Regions from separate parts of the Homo sapiens genome. Here regions 2 and 3 are each linked to region 1. The links are contacts of gene promoters, found by promoter capture Hi-C in blood cells and fetal thymus (Javierre and others, 2016). All regions are on one chromosome and are shown on one strand. The core of a region is centred on a gene start or on the middle of the fragment in contact, and the rest is flanking DNA. Distances in the headings are between cores, read along the strand shown.

What was found. Contacts are between HindIII fragments. The CHiCAGO score rates a contact against its expected background, and 5 or more counts as called.
Region 2: a contact is called between a fragment that was not itself captured here and the fragment with the promoter of SCGB1C1 in region 1, in 2 of 17 cell types (M0 macrophages and M1 macrophages). The highest score is 6.1, in M0 macrophages.
Region 3: a contact is called between a fragment that was not itself captured here and the fragment with the promoter of SCGB1C1 in region 1, in 4 of 17 cell types (endothelial precursors, naive B cells, M1 macrophages and 1 more). The highest score is 6.2, in endothelial precursors.

What each region holds. Positions count from the first base shown.
Region 1 is chr11:190,619-194,513 of GRCh38, forward strand. SCGB1C1 (secretoglobin family 1C member 1) reads left to right here and starts at 2,460. Exons shown (of 3, transcript NM_145651.3): 1 at 2,460-2,536; 2 at 3,094-3,293; 3 at 3,800-3,895. The coding sequence starts at 2,482. The coding sequence ends at 3,832. The HindIII fragment of the contact is 15,974 bases long and covers 1-3,895 here.
Region 2 is chr11:338,575-343,036 of GRCh38, forward strand. No RefSeq gene overlaps it. Among named protein-coding and RNA genes, the nearest start is that of IFITM3, 20 kb to the left of the region's middle. The HindIII fragment of the contact is 759 bases long and covers 1,285-2,043 here.
Region 3 is chr11:386,300-390,265 of GRCh38, forward strand. No RefSeq gene overlaps it. Among named protein-coding and RNA genes, the nearest start is that of PKP3, 5.9 kb to the right of the region's middle. The HindIII fragment of the contact is 255 bases long and covers 1,578-1,832 here.

The DNA.
Region 1 (3,895 bases), core at 1,210-3,709:
TCTGGTTTTCCTGCTACTGCCTTAGCTCCCCAACTTGCCCCACTTAGGCTTGTGGGACCTCCTCACTGTTGGTTGAGGTACATGTGTGGTGATCAATACGAATCCACTCTGGCACCAGCCTCCTTCCCGCCATCCCAGGCACACTGACAGCGATCACGTTTGTACCTACTGCGCCTGCCTCTTTTGAATGTCCTTCTCTGCCCTAATCTGTACTTATGGTGCCAGGTTTCTCTTAAGAATGTCCCCTTTGGCCTTATCAGCATGTAGCTAGCAATATTCTGACATTTTTATTGCAGAGTGAATGATTGGGGCATCTTCAGAGGAGTTCTAGGGTGTTTCTTTCTGCATAGGTACCTCTTTTCCCTCCTACCCACAATTGACAAGTGCCCATCCACTCCAGCACTAGAGATGCTACTAATATGTGAATTTTTGGTGGTCCCTCCAGGTGAGCCTTCCCAGACTTTCCCTTTTCCAGGAGGCCCCCTCCTGTTCATGTCTAGCTACCTATCTACTCTAACAAAGCCCACTATCCTGTGTCTTTCCCAAAAATAGTGAGGGAACGATTAATTGGAAACCATAAGAAATGATATGGATATAGACGAAAACTTTACAACTTACACAAATAATCACTCAAAATCATCCTTACACTAAAAATGCAAAACTATACAATTTCTAGAAGAAACAATAGAAGAAAAGCTATCTGCCTTTGGGTTTGGTAATGAATTTTAACAAATGACACAAAAGGTAGATATACACAAAAGAAGTGACAGTGTGGATTTCTTAATATTTAAAGTTTATACTCTGGAAGAGACCTTGTTAAGAGAACAAAAAGACAAGCCACATATTGAAGAAAATATTTGCAAAATACACATCTGAGAAAGAATTTGTCTTCAAAATATATAAAAAATTATTAAAACTAAACAATAAGTTAAACAGCCCAACTAAAAATGCACACACATCTGAACAGACACCTCACCAAAGAAGATCTACAGATGGCAAGTAAACACATTGAAACCACAATGTGGTTACAATTGAAAACCACAATGAGATAGCACAGCTGGTCTATATCTGTTAGAATTGCTAAACTCTTTTAAAAATGACAAATTGCTGAAGGAAAAACAAGAACTCTTTTCATTGCCAGTGGAACACAGCGTATAAGACCAAAATACGCCACCCCAAAACCTAACCCTAACCCTAACCCCTAACCCCTAACCCTAACCCTAACCCTAACCCTAACCCCTAACCCCTAACCCTAACCCTAACCCTAACCCCTACCCCTAACCCCTAACCCTTACCGGTGACCCTACTGTATCCCTGACTCCTAACCAACGTTGATCCCTAACCCTAAACCCCTTACTGTAACTATAATCTTCATCCCACCCTATCCCTAGCCTTAGTGCCATCCCCCAGGCTTTTTCCAGGATGGGATTTTATGTGATTGTTTCGAATAGGTGGAAATCTCTGCTCATTTAGGAGTCGTTCAATGTAACAAGGATCTTGGTCTTCACAGAGACCCTAAACGCGTGTGGCCCAGGGCCATGTGGATGCCATCAGCCACTAGGTGGCAGCAGGGGCCCTTTGGATTTGAACAATGCAGCTCAGTCAGAGGGCTGGACTGGGACACCCCTACTCATGGTCTCTCTTGGCATGGTTTTGTTTGGTGACTCCAGGTGTCCCAACCTCCTGTGTCCATTGTAATATGTCCTGGGACCATCTCCCCCAGGGCCTTCAACCTGGGGGGTTGAACCCCAGGATAGCAACCCCAAGCCCTCCTTGCTATCCTGGCTACTGATGGAAGATGTACCTCAAGCCTGTCCCATTCCTCACTTCCTGCTGAGACCTGGCCCCAACATGGCCAGCTCTATGTTCCTCAGACCCTCTCAGGCCACCTTCTCTCTTCTAGGCACTGTCACTGGGCTTCTCCCCACCCCATAGATCCACAGCCCCCAGGTAGTCCTACAGCTGTGTCCACTCGTGCAGCCTGCACCCCCTTCCCCTACTCGGCCACCCCATCTGAGTAGTAAGGGGCCCCTGCCTGATTGGAGACCCCCAGATGCAGACCCAGATCACACAGCACACTGATAAGAGGAGGGATTCGCACCTTAAAAGAAAGGCGTGGGACCAACCCCAGATCCCACCACTCTCGGCCTCAAGGGCAGGCATGACTAGAGGCCCTTGGTGGCCAGGACCCACTGCCTTCTTCACCGATCAGTTGGCATGGCCTCTCACCAGTGTTCCCTCCTAACACACCTGTTCTCTCTCTCACACACCCTAAAGCCGCTTGCCAACCACCTGTCACACAGCCACTCCATGCCTGTTGCTGCTTGGCACCCACTGGGGGCCAGGGATGTGAACAAACCTCATCTAAGCTGGCTGCCGGGTCCTAATGGGCAGGTCCGGTCCGCCCTCTAGGAGAGGTGCTGTCCGGTGAGGCATAAAATCCCGGGATTCTGGCTGGAGGCAGCTCCTGAGACTGCTGGCATGAAGGGGAGCCGTGCCCTCCTGCTGGTGGCCCTCACCCTGTTCTGCATCTGCCGTGAGTCTGTGCCACTGGGGTTTCCAGAACATTCAGGGGTGGGGGGGAGTGGGGGGTACCTGAGAAGGTAAAATCCTGGCATCGGGCCTCTGCAGTGAACACTCCACCTGCTTCTGTCACAGAAGTGGGCAAGGACCCTGCAGAACCCGCGCCCACCCTACTCCACCCCAACCAAGGACAAAGCCCAGCTGACCCAACACCAGCCCAGTGTCTCCTACCCCAGCCCAGTCCAGCCTGACCTGACCCTTCAAGCCTCTGGTCATAATAGCCTCTCATCAGGGGAAATTTCCCCCACACCAGGAGCTTAACTTTCCTTCCCTGGTGATCCCAGGGAATGCTGAGTGGAAATTGGAGCAGCTAAGATTAAGGGGGATGTGGAGGGGTCTTCGGGCAAGGTGGAGTTGGAGGTGTTGTGGAGGAAGCCCTGGGGAGGAGAGGTGGGCATTGAAGGGGAAGGTCTGGAGACCATGGAGGTTGGAGCCCTGGGGCAGGTCCAGGGCTGTGGTTGCACCAGAGTCACCCTGTCCTGTCCTGGCATCATCTCGCTCGTGATGCAGGGATGGCCACAGGGGAGGACAACGATGAGTTTTTCATGGACTTCCTGCAAACACTACTGGTGGGGACCCCAGAGGAGCTCTATGAGGGGACCTTGGGCAAGTACAATGTCAACGAAGATGCCAAGGCAGCAATGACTGAACTCAAGTCCTGTATAGATGGCCTGCAGCCAATGCACAAGGCGGAGCTGGTCAAGCTGCTGGTATGAGGGCGGCGGGCACCCCATTTTCTAAAGATCTGCAGCCTTACCAAGACCACCCAACACAGCACCCACACAGCCTACCCCACCCACAGACATCCACCACCCACAGACATTGCACCCGCATCAGCCAGCTCAGGTGGACACCCCAGACCTCCTGTCCACCGAGCAGCCCCCAGACTCCATAGACCTCCTCCCCAGTCTGTGGGATACTCCTCCATGCACACATGTGAACATACACAGAGATCCAAACACAGGTGCAGACATGAAATGTACACTGCGTGCACACATGTATAAACACGTTCACACCCACATGCTCACACTGGGATATGCACACACATACATGTGTGCACACCATCACATGTGCACACACACCTCCCAGCTGCTGGGAGGAGATAGGCAGCAATATGCCAGACCCCCCCCCACTGAGGGCCTTGCTTGCCTGATGGAGCTGTGGCTCTCCACTTATTGAGCACAGCCCTCTTAGTCCACATGTGTCTGCCTTCCAGGTGCAAGTGCTGGGCAGTCAGGACGGTGCCTAAGTGGACCTCAGACATGGCTCAGCCATAGGACCTGCCACACAAGCAGCCGTGGACACAACGCCC
Region 2 (4,462 bases), core at 414-2,913, 150 kb after region 1:
GGGCGACAGAGCAAGACTCTGTCTCAAAAAAAAAAAAAAAAGCACACCTTCATACCTTATAATTTTTTTTTGTTTTTTGAGACTGAGTCTTGCAATCTCTGCTCACTGCAACTTCCACCTCCCGGGTTCAAGCAATTCTTCCCCCTCAGCCTCCCAAGTAGCTGGGATTACAGGCGTGCACCACCACATTCGGCTAATTTTTGTATTTGTAGTAGGGATGGGCTTTCACCATGTTGGCCAGGCTGGTCTCGAACTCCTGACCTCAGGTGATCCGCCCCCCTCAGCCTCCCAAAGTGCTGGGATGACAGGCTTGAGCCACCACAACCAGCCTCTTATAACTTTCCTTACCCAAAATTCGCCTTCCTTTGTTTGTATATTCTGCATACAGAGCTGCTTCCCTTATTATTTCTCGTAATTTTAATTACCATATAATTAGAATTCTAAACACTTAGTAACTTTAAAAGCTTTTCTTATCTTTTTTTTTTTTTTTTTTTTTTTTGAGTCAGGGCCTTCTTCTGTTGCCCAGACTGGAGTGCAGTGGTGCTATCACAGCTCACTGCAGCCTCAACCTCCCAAGCTCAAGTGATCTTCCCACCTTAGTCTCCCAAGTTGCTGGGACCACAGGCATGTGCCACCATGCCCAGCTTTTTTTTTTTTTTTTTTTTTTTGAGAGGAGTCTCACTCTGTCACCCAGGCTGGAGTGCAGTGGCGCGATCTTGGCTCACTGCAACCTCCGCCTCCCGGGTTCAAGTGATTCCCCTGCCTCAGCCTCCCGAGTAGCTGGGACTACAGGTGTCCACCACCATGCTCAGCTAATTTTTGTATTTTTAGTAGAGATGGGGTTTCACCATGTTGGCCAGGATGGTCTCAATCTCTTGACCTCGTGATCCACCCACCTCAGCCTCCCAAAGTGCTATGATTACAGGCGTGAGCTACCACACCCAGCCCAGCTAATTTTTATTTTTGGTAGAGATGGGCTGGTCTGGAACTCTTGGCTCAAGTGATCCTCCCACCTCAGCCTCCCAAAGTGTTGGGATTACAAGCATGAGCCACCACACCAGCTATTAACCTTGGTTTCTAGTGAAAACTAGCAAGTAAACACTTGTCAACTTTTTGCATACATACCAACATTCTGCAGATTGGCAAATCTGTGAATATACCATGTCATAATTTCTAGAAGTGTGTGTTTCTTTATCATACAATTTTTCAATATGGCACAGGATGTGTTTGCTGGCAGAGACAAGTATGTTTAGTACTTCTATAATAAGAAGCCAAAAGTAGACAAGCTTATGTTTAGCAATCAAAGTTTCAGTATTTTATGTTATTCAAAAAAAATAAGGTTTAAAAAATATCTTTCTAGATAGTCGATGAATAACCATCATTTAATTTAACTTGACTCTAACAGTGCAAGCTACCAAAGAGAATCGGCAAGCTGCTTTTAAGTAGATGTTTCATAACAGCAGACAAGGCTAGACATCATCAAATTGCTTTTCTTGGTGGCAACTCTTGTAACAGAGATAACATAAGTTTTTGCCTAATAAACCTAGGTAAAACCAAAGTTGTGTGTCTGCGTTTTATTTAATGCTGACAACTCTAAATATTTCATTAAACCAGAAAAGTTTAAATAGCATTTATTTACCAACTATAATCTCAGATGACATGAAATTTAAAAAACATTTGGGTTAGTTTCTATATTTCTAAGAGTTTAAGGATAACTCAACTTATATAAGCTCATATTTTTCTTTAAGCCAATTAAATACCACTTTTTTATAAATTAATTTTGGCAACGCAATCTAGAGTAGGAAAATGTCACGTGTACATGTATACATAGACATACATAAACATACAGACAGAAGCAGATCATATAGCTTTCTTTTTTTTTTTCACACTCTTCAGACACTAGAGTGTTACAGCTTCATTCTAAAATCTTAGCCACATGCCAAGCACAGTAATACAAAACACACTGTTTAATACAAGAACAATAGGCTTCAAATCTTGTTTCTGGCACATGGAACAAGTCAAAATTACTTGCCAGATGATTAAAGCTTTTATTAATATTTGCGGGAAAGACTTAAGGTTTTTCATTTGCCCAATTTCCATATAGCTCTTTTTTTTTCTTTTCTCATAAGATGGCTTCCCAAAATTTGCATATCAAAGAGATAACCCTCAGGTGTTTGAGCAGAGTAGAAAATTTACATCTCAAAGGCACAGAACTTAGACTTCAGCCTTAAATATCTTCATTTGAAGAAGAGAAAAAAAGAAAGAAATGAAAAAAAGAAAGAGAAAGAGAAAAGAAAGAAAGGAAGAGAAAAAAAGAGAAGGAGAAAGAAGGAAGGAAGGAAGGAAGGGGAAGGGATGGGAAGGGAAGGGAAGGAAAGGAAAGAAAGAAAAAAGCAAGCAAGCAAGAACAAGGAAAGAAAGAAGGAAGGAAGGGAGGGAAGGGAAGGGAAGGGAAGGAAAGAAGAAAGAAAAAAGCAAGAACAAGGAAAGAAGGAAGGAAGGAAAGAAAGAAAAAAGAAAGAAAGAAAAAGAAAAGGAAGGAAGGAAAAGGAAAGAGGAGGAAGGAGGGAAGGAAGAAAGGAAGGAAAGGGAAGGGAAGAAGGAAGGAATGAGAAAGAAAGGAAGGAAGGAAAAGGAAAGGAAAGAAAAGAAAAGAAAAAAGAGAGAGAAAGCAAGCAAAGCGCTAATTAAGCCAAGATGGGGGTCAGAAATGCACGCTAAGTAAAGGTAAGTTTTGTGATGTAGATTTAAATCAATGCTTTCTCCATTCTTTTTTTTTGTTGTTTACTTTGTTTTGTTTTGTTTTGTTTTGAGACAGAGTCTTATTTTACAACCCGGCTGGAGTGCAGTGGTGCGATCATAGCTCACTGCAACCTCAAACTGTTGGTTAAATTTCTTTGTAAAGATGGGGTGAGAGGGTTTGGATTTGTGTCCCCACCCAAATCTCATGTCAAATTGTAATCCTCAGTGTTGGAGGAGGAGCCTGGTGGGAGGTGATTGGATCATGGGGGCAGACTTACCCCTTGCTGTTCTCAGGATAGTGAGTTCTCATGAGATCTGGTTGTTTAAAAGTGTGTGGCACCTCCCCCTTCTGTCTCTTCCTCCTGCTCCAGCCATGCAAGACGTGCCCCCTTCCTCTTCACCTTCTGCCATGATTGTAACTTTCCTGAGGCCTCCCCAGCCATGTGTCCTCTTTTCTTTTGCCTTTTTTTTTTTTGAGACACAGTCTTGCTGTGTCACCCAGGCTGGAGTGCAGTGGCGCGATCTCAGCTCACTACAACGTCCACCTCCCAGACTGAAGCAATTGTCCTGCCTTAGCCAGCTGAGTAGCTGGGATTACAGGTGCACGCCACCATACCTGGCTAATTTTTGTATTTTTAGTAGAGATGGGGTTTCACCATGTTGGCCAGGCTGGTCTCAAACTCCTGACCTCAACCTGCCTCAGCCTCCCAAAGTGCTGTGATTAAGGCATGAGCCACCACACCCAGCCTAAACCTCTTTTCTGTATAAATTACCCAGACTCAGATAGTTCTTTACAGCAATGAGAGAAGGGACTAATACACCGACTCTTACTATGTCACCCAGGCTGGTCTTGAACTCCTGGGCTCAAGCAACCCTCCTCCCTCAGCCTCCCAAAGTGCTGGCATTATAGGCATGAGCCACCACTTCTATCTCCTTTATAGAATTAAATTTTTCTTACAAAGGGTCTCAAAAGAATTGGATCAAAATAATCTTTATGCCAGAGTAGCACATTTGGGGCCTACGTTGGCTAGATCAGAGGCTTCTCAGCCCAGTTTATGCTTTTTAACTCCATCACTGAGTTCAGGGTGGCGCCTACTGATGAACTGGCAAGCATTTTCCATGCCTGGAGTTAGCATGAATAGGCCAGGATATAATTCTACATCATCAGCAAATTTCTGGGACAGGGAAACCTTTCACTATTGTTCTGAGCTCAGATTTTAATCAAGATGTCAATGTGGTTAAAGAAGGAAGGCCTGGTTGATCTAAAGGCCTAACACGATGAAAGTTTGGCTAACTTTCTTTTTGCCTCTGGGGTATAAAAGTTACTGAGCAAAAAAGTGAGTAGTTCAGAGCAATCTGGCAGAGCAAGATGGAGAGAAAGAGAGAAGGGCTCATCTGTGCTGAGTCAGTAGACATGCCCTTTTTCATTGTCAATTAACTGCTTTGGTTTTCTATTTGCCTTTTTCTATGGAGTCTTTTAGAGAGACAACTTGGGATTCATTTAGTCTTTTAGCAGCCTGTGCATGCCAATCAAAAAATCATCTGGGCATGGAGGTTCTCGCCTGTAATCCCAGCACTTTGGGAGGCTGAGGCAGATGGATCACTTGAGCTCAGGAGTTCGAGACCAGCCCGGCAACATGGCGAAAACCCATCTCTACTAAAAATACAAAAAATTAGCTGGGCTTGGTGGTGCATGCCTGTAGTCCCAGCTACTCAGGAG
Region 3 (3,966 bases), core at 455-2,954, 190 kb after region 1:
GGACTTGTGGTGCCTTTTCCGGGCCCACCCATGGCTGCCCATGCACCAGTTGGCATGAATTTCCTCCCCTCTGAGGCCCATAAAAGCCCTGGGTTCAGCCAGAGTGGAGAAGAGGACAGAGAGACGACGGGATGACCAGCTGCAGAAAGGAGCTACCCTCACTAGGGCCTCCTCTTTGCTGAGCATTGCAGGCCTTGGGTCAACCAACTGCAGAGAGGAGTTACCCTCTCTGCTGATAGCTGCAGGCATTGGGTCGACCAACTGCAGAGAGGAGCTGCCCTCTCTGCTGAGAGCTGAACACTCGTTGGGACGACCTTCCTGCAGAGAGGAGCCACTCACTCCCAGCCTCCTCTCTGCTGAGAGCCTCTGAGCCGTTCTGACACTTAATAAAGCTCCTCTTCGTCTTGCTCACCCTCCACTTGTCTGTGTACCTCATTCTTCCTGGACACAGGACAAGAACTCAGGCAAAGGTGCTCCTGGCCACAGAGGTTTCTGGCCAGAAAAGCAACACCCCAAATATCCCACAACATGTTTGGGGGCTCGTCTGGGATCTGCACAAGGGTAAGTAAAAGTGGATCTTCTCTTTCTGTCCTTTCTTCGTGGTCCTTAAACTCAACAGCTAAAATGAAAGAAAAATACCAGGCCTCTGTCAATTAGTTAAAAGTGACGACTAGTCTCCAAGCACCAGACTCAACACATGGAGGCCAGGCTTGCTGGGGAGGACACTGTCAAGCCCCCATCACCCTCAGGTATTGGGAATGTTGGCTTTGTTCCAACCCAGTTTTCCTTCATGGAGGTCTAGCTGTCACGTGGGACCAGAAGGAGGTCCTAGAGCAACTGGGGGTATTTGGCTGAGGTTACCCCTTGGAGTTATCCAAAGGCCCCTGGACTGACTCCAGTCCCCAGCCTCCCATGAGGGTGTTGGCACAAAGACCTCCACTCTTTCCTATCATTCTTTTCTGTCTTTCTTTTGTGGCTGTCATGGTTCCTATCTCTTCTTTATGTACAATGTTAAATGTTAAGGATGTTGTTGCAAACCAGAAATATTACTGGGTAGAATGAGCATTTGACTGAGTCATCAAAACTATAAAATGGAAGGTTAAGAATAGCACAGACGAAGTAAAGTGTGCCTTGGTATCTGTATGTAAATTTGTGGCAAAAATGTTCTTGTTATTTCCTTGGCCGCCAACTTGGTGCCAAGCACCTTGAGACCCAGAAAAGAAGCATGGTCTCAGGAAGGAAGCTTTTCTGTAAACGTGAGACCCAGAAGAGAAGCATGGTCTCAGGAAGGAAGCTTTTCTGTAAGTGTAAGACACAGAAGGGAAGCATGGTCTTGGGAGGAAGCTTTTCTGTAAATGTGAGGGCCAGTGATCCCAGGCCTCGTGTGTGCAGGCTTTCTTTGCCTTGCAGGGTAACTTGGACCTTTGCCTCTACTGTAGGATTGATCCAGCCCTCCTGGTGGCCATCTCAGGAGAGGCTGCAAGAGGCAATCCCAGGGAAATAGAGAAGCAAACCCCAGAGGCACCTCCAGTGGAGGAATCAAACCCTTCACTCCTCCCTACTCAGGTTCTCTCTCAAGCTTTCCCCAGCCTAGAAATCCTCATTTTAGGCCATTCTGAGTCAAATTAAGGGGGATCTTGGCAAGTTTTCAGATGGCCCTGACAGATACATGGAGGCTTTCCAGAACTTAACCCAAGTATTTGAGCTCTCCTGGAAGGATATCATGTTACTTCTGAATCAAACCCTGACTGCTGAAAAGCAGGCCACCCCGCAAGCGGCAGAGAATTTGGGGGATGAGCTGTATATCTTATATAGGGCCAGGGAAGAAGAGAAGCTTTATCCAATTGGATGAATAGCAGTACCATTGGAGGACCCTAAATGGGACCCCAGTGATAAAATGGGAGAATGGAGGATGAAACACTTTCAGATGTGATACTGGAGGGCTTGTGAGGGAATGGGACTGGGCTTCTCATTGCACTTGGCTGGAGGGCTTATGAGAGAAAGGGGCTGGGCCTCTTGATTGCACCAGGCTGTCCATGGTAGAGCAGGGATTGGCCCCACTGCCTTCCTGGGGGATGGCAGGGGCCTTGGTGAAGTGTGCCTCTCTGTCTCCTGACTCAGTCAATGAACGGCTGGTCCTAGGGGATGAGGAGATGAGTTCATTGCACAGGCGGCCCCTGATGTCAGAAGGAGGATGCGGGAATGGGCTGTGGGACCAGATGGTACTTTGGGGGCATCCTGGGAGGGGCCACCTCAGTTTTTTCCAGTGGGAACCGGGAGGAAGTCCAGAAAAGAGAGAGGAGATATAGGAAGAAGGCAAAGGCTCTTAACAGCTGCCCTGTGGGCTCATGGACCCCAGGATCCCTAGATACACCTGTGACTGCTGCAAATGTGTTGGGCTAGGGCCCCACAGGAGGGTTTCCAGACAGTGCAGGGAGGAGGGTCCTTCATGAGGGTTTCCACACAGTGCAGGGAGGAGGGTCCTTCAGGAGGGTTTCCACACAGTGCAGGGAGGAGGGTCCTTCAGGAGGGTTTCCACACAGTGCAGGGAGGAGGGTCCTTCAGGAGGCTTTCCAGACAGTCCTGGGAGGAGGGTCCTTCAGGAGGGGCTTTCCAGACAGTGCAGGGAGGAGGGTCCTTCAGGAGGGGCTTTCCAGACAGTGCAGGGAGGCCACCTTGACCCTGTCCAGTTTGCCTTGGGGACTGTAGGGTCCAGCCCTACGGGGCTTAGTGGGTGTTCTCCCCATGTGCGGAGACCAGAGATTGTAATAAATAAAGGCACAAGACAAAGAGATAAAGAGAAAGCAGCTGGGCCTGGGGGACCACTACCATCAAGACGCGGAGACCAGTAGTGCCCTGAACGGCTGGGCGCGCTGATATTTATTGCATACAAGACAAGGGGGCAGGATAAGGAGGGTGAATCTTCTAAGTGATAAGGTGAAGCAAGTCACCTTACGGTGACCCTTCCCTCTTAGGTAGCCGAAGTAGAGAGGAAAGGCAGCATACATCAGTGTTGTCTTCTATGCAGTTATAAGAACGATCAAAGACTTTAAGACTTTCACTATTTCTTCTACCGCTATCTACTACGAACTTCAAAGAGGAACCAGGAGTACGGGAGGAGCATGAAAGTGGACAAGGAGTGTGATCATTCAAGCACCACAGGGAGGGGGTTAGGCCTCCGGATGACTGCGGGCCAGGCCTGGAGAATATCCAGCCTCCCACAAGAAGCTGGTGGAGCAGAGTGTTCCCCGACCTCTCCAAGGAAAGGAGACTCCCTTTCGCGGTCGGCTAAGGAACGGGTGCCTTCCCAGGCACTCGCGTTACCGCTTGACCAAGGAGCCCTCAAGCGGCCCTTATGTTGGCGTGACAGAGGGCTCACCTCTTGCCTTCTAGGTCACTTCTCACAACGTCCCTTCAGCACCTGACCCTATACCCACCGCTTATTCCTAGGTTATATAGTAATGGAACAAAGAGTAATATTAAAAGCTAATGACTAATAATGTTTATAATAATGATTGATAATTGTCCATGAGCATCTCTATATCTAATTTGTATTATGACTATTCTTATTCTATTTTCTTTATTATACTGAAACAGTTTGTGCCTTCAGTCTCTTGCCTGGGCACCTGGGTCATCCTCCGCCCACAGGGGACCGCTGGAGGACAGACCATCCCTGGAGACGTGGGTTGCCGGACCTCGGGCCAGTCTCCCAAATGGTACAGCAGGACTGATGGGTCCCCAGCCTCCTCTCCCCAGCTACAGTCGTCCAGACCACCATTGCCATCCAGGAACCCCAGGGATTGTAGGGGTCAAGGGAAGGAGGATGGACCTCGTCCTGGACTCCAGAGTTCTCCTCTCCAATCTGGGCCCCCCTCCCCATCTCTTGGCACAACTGTGAGTGGCATCTCAGGCCTCCTTCCTCCACCATGTCAGGAATCAACACAGTCTTGTGAATACAGGGACCTC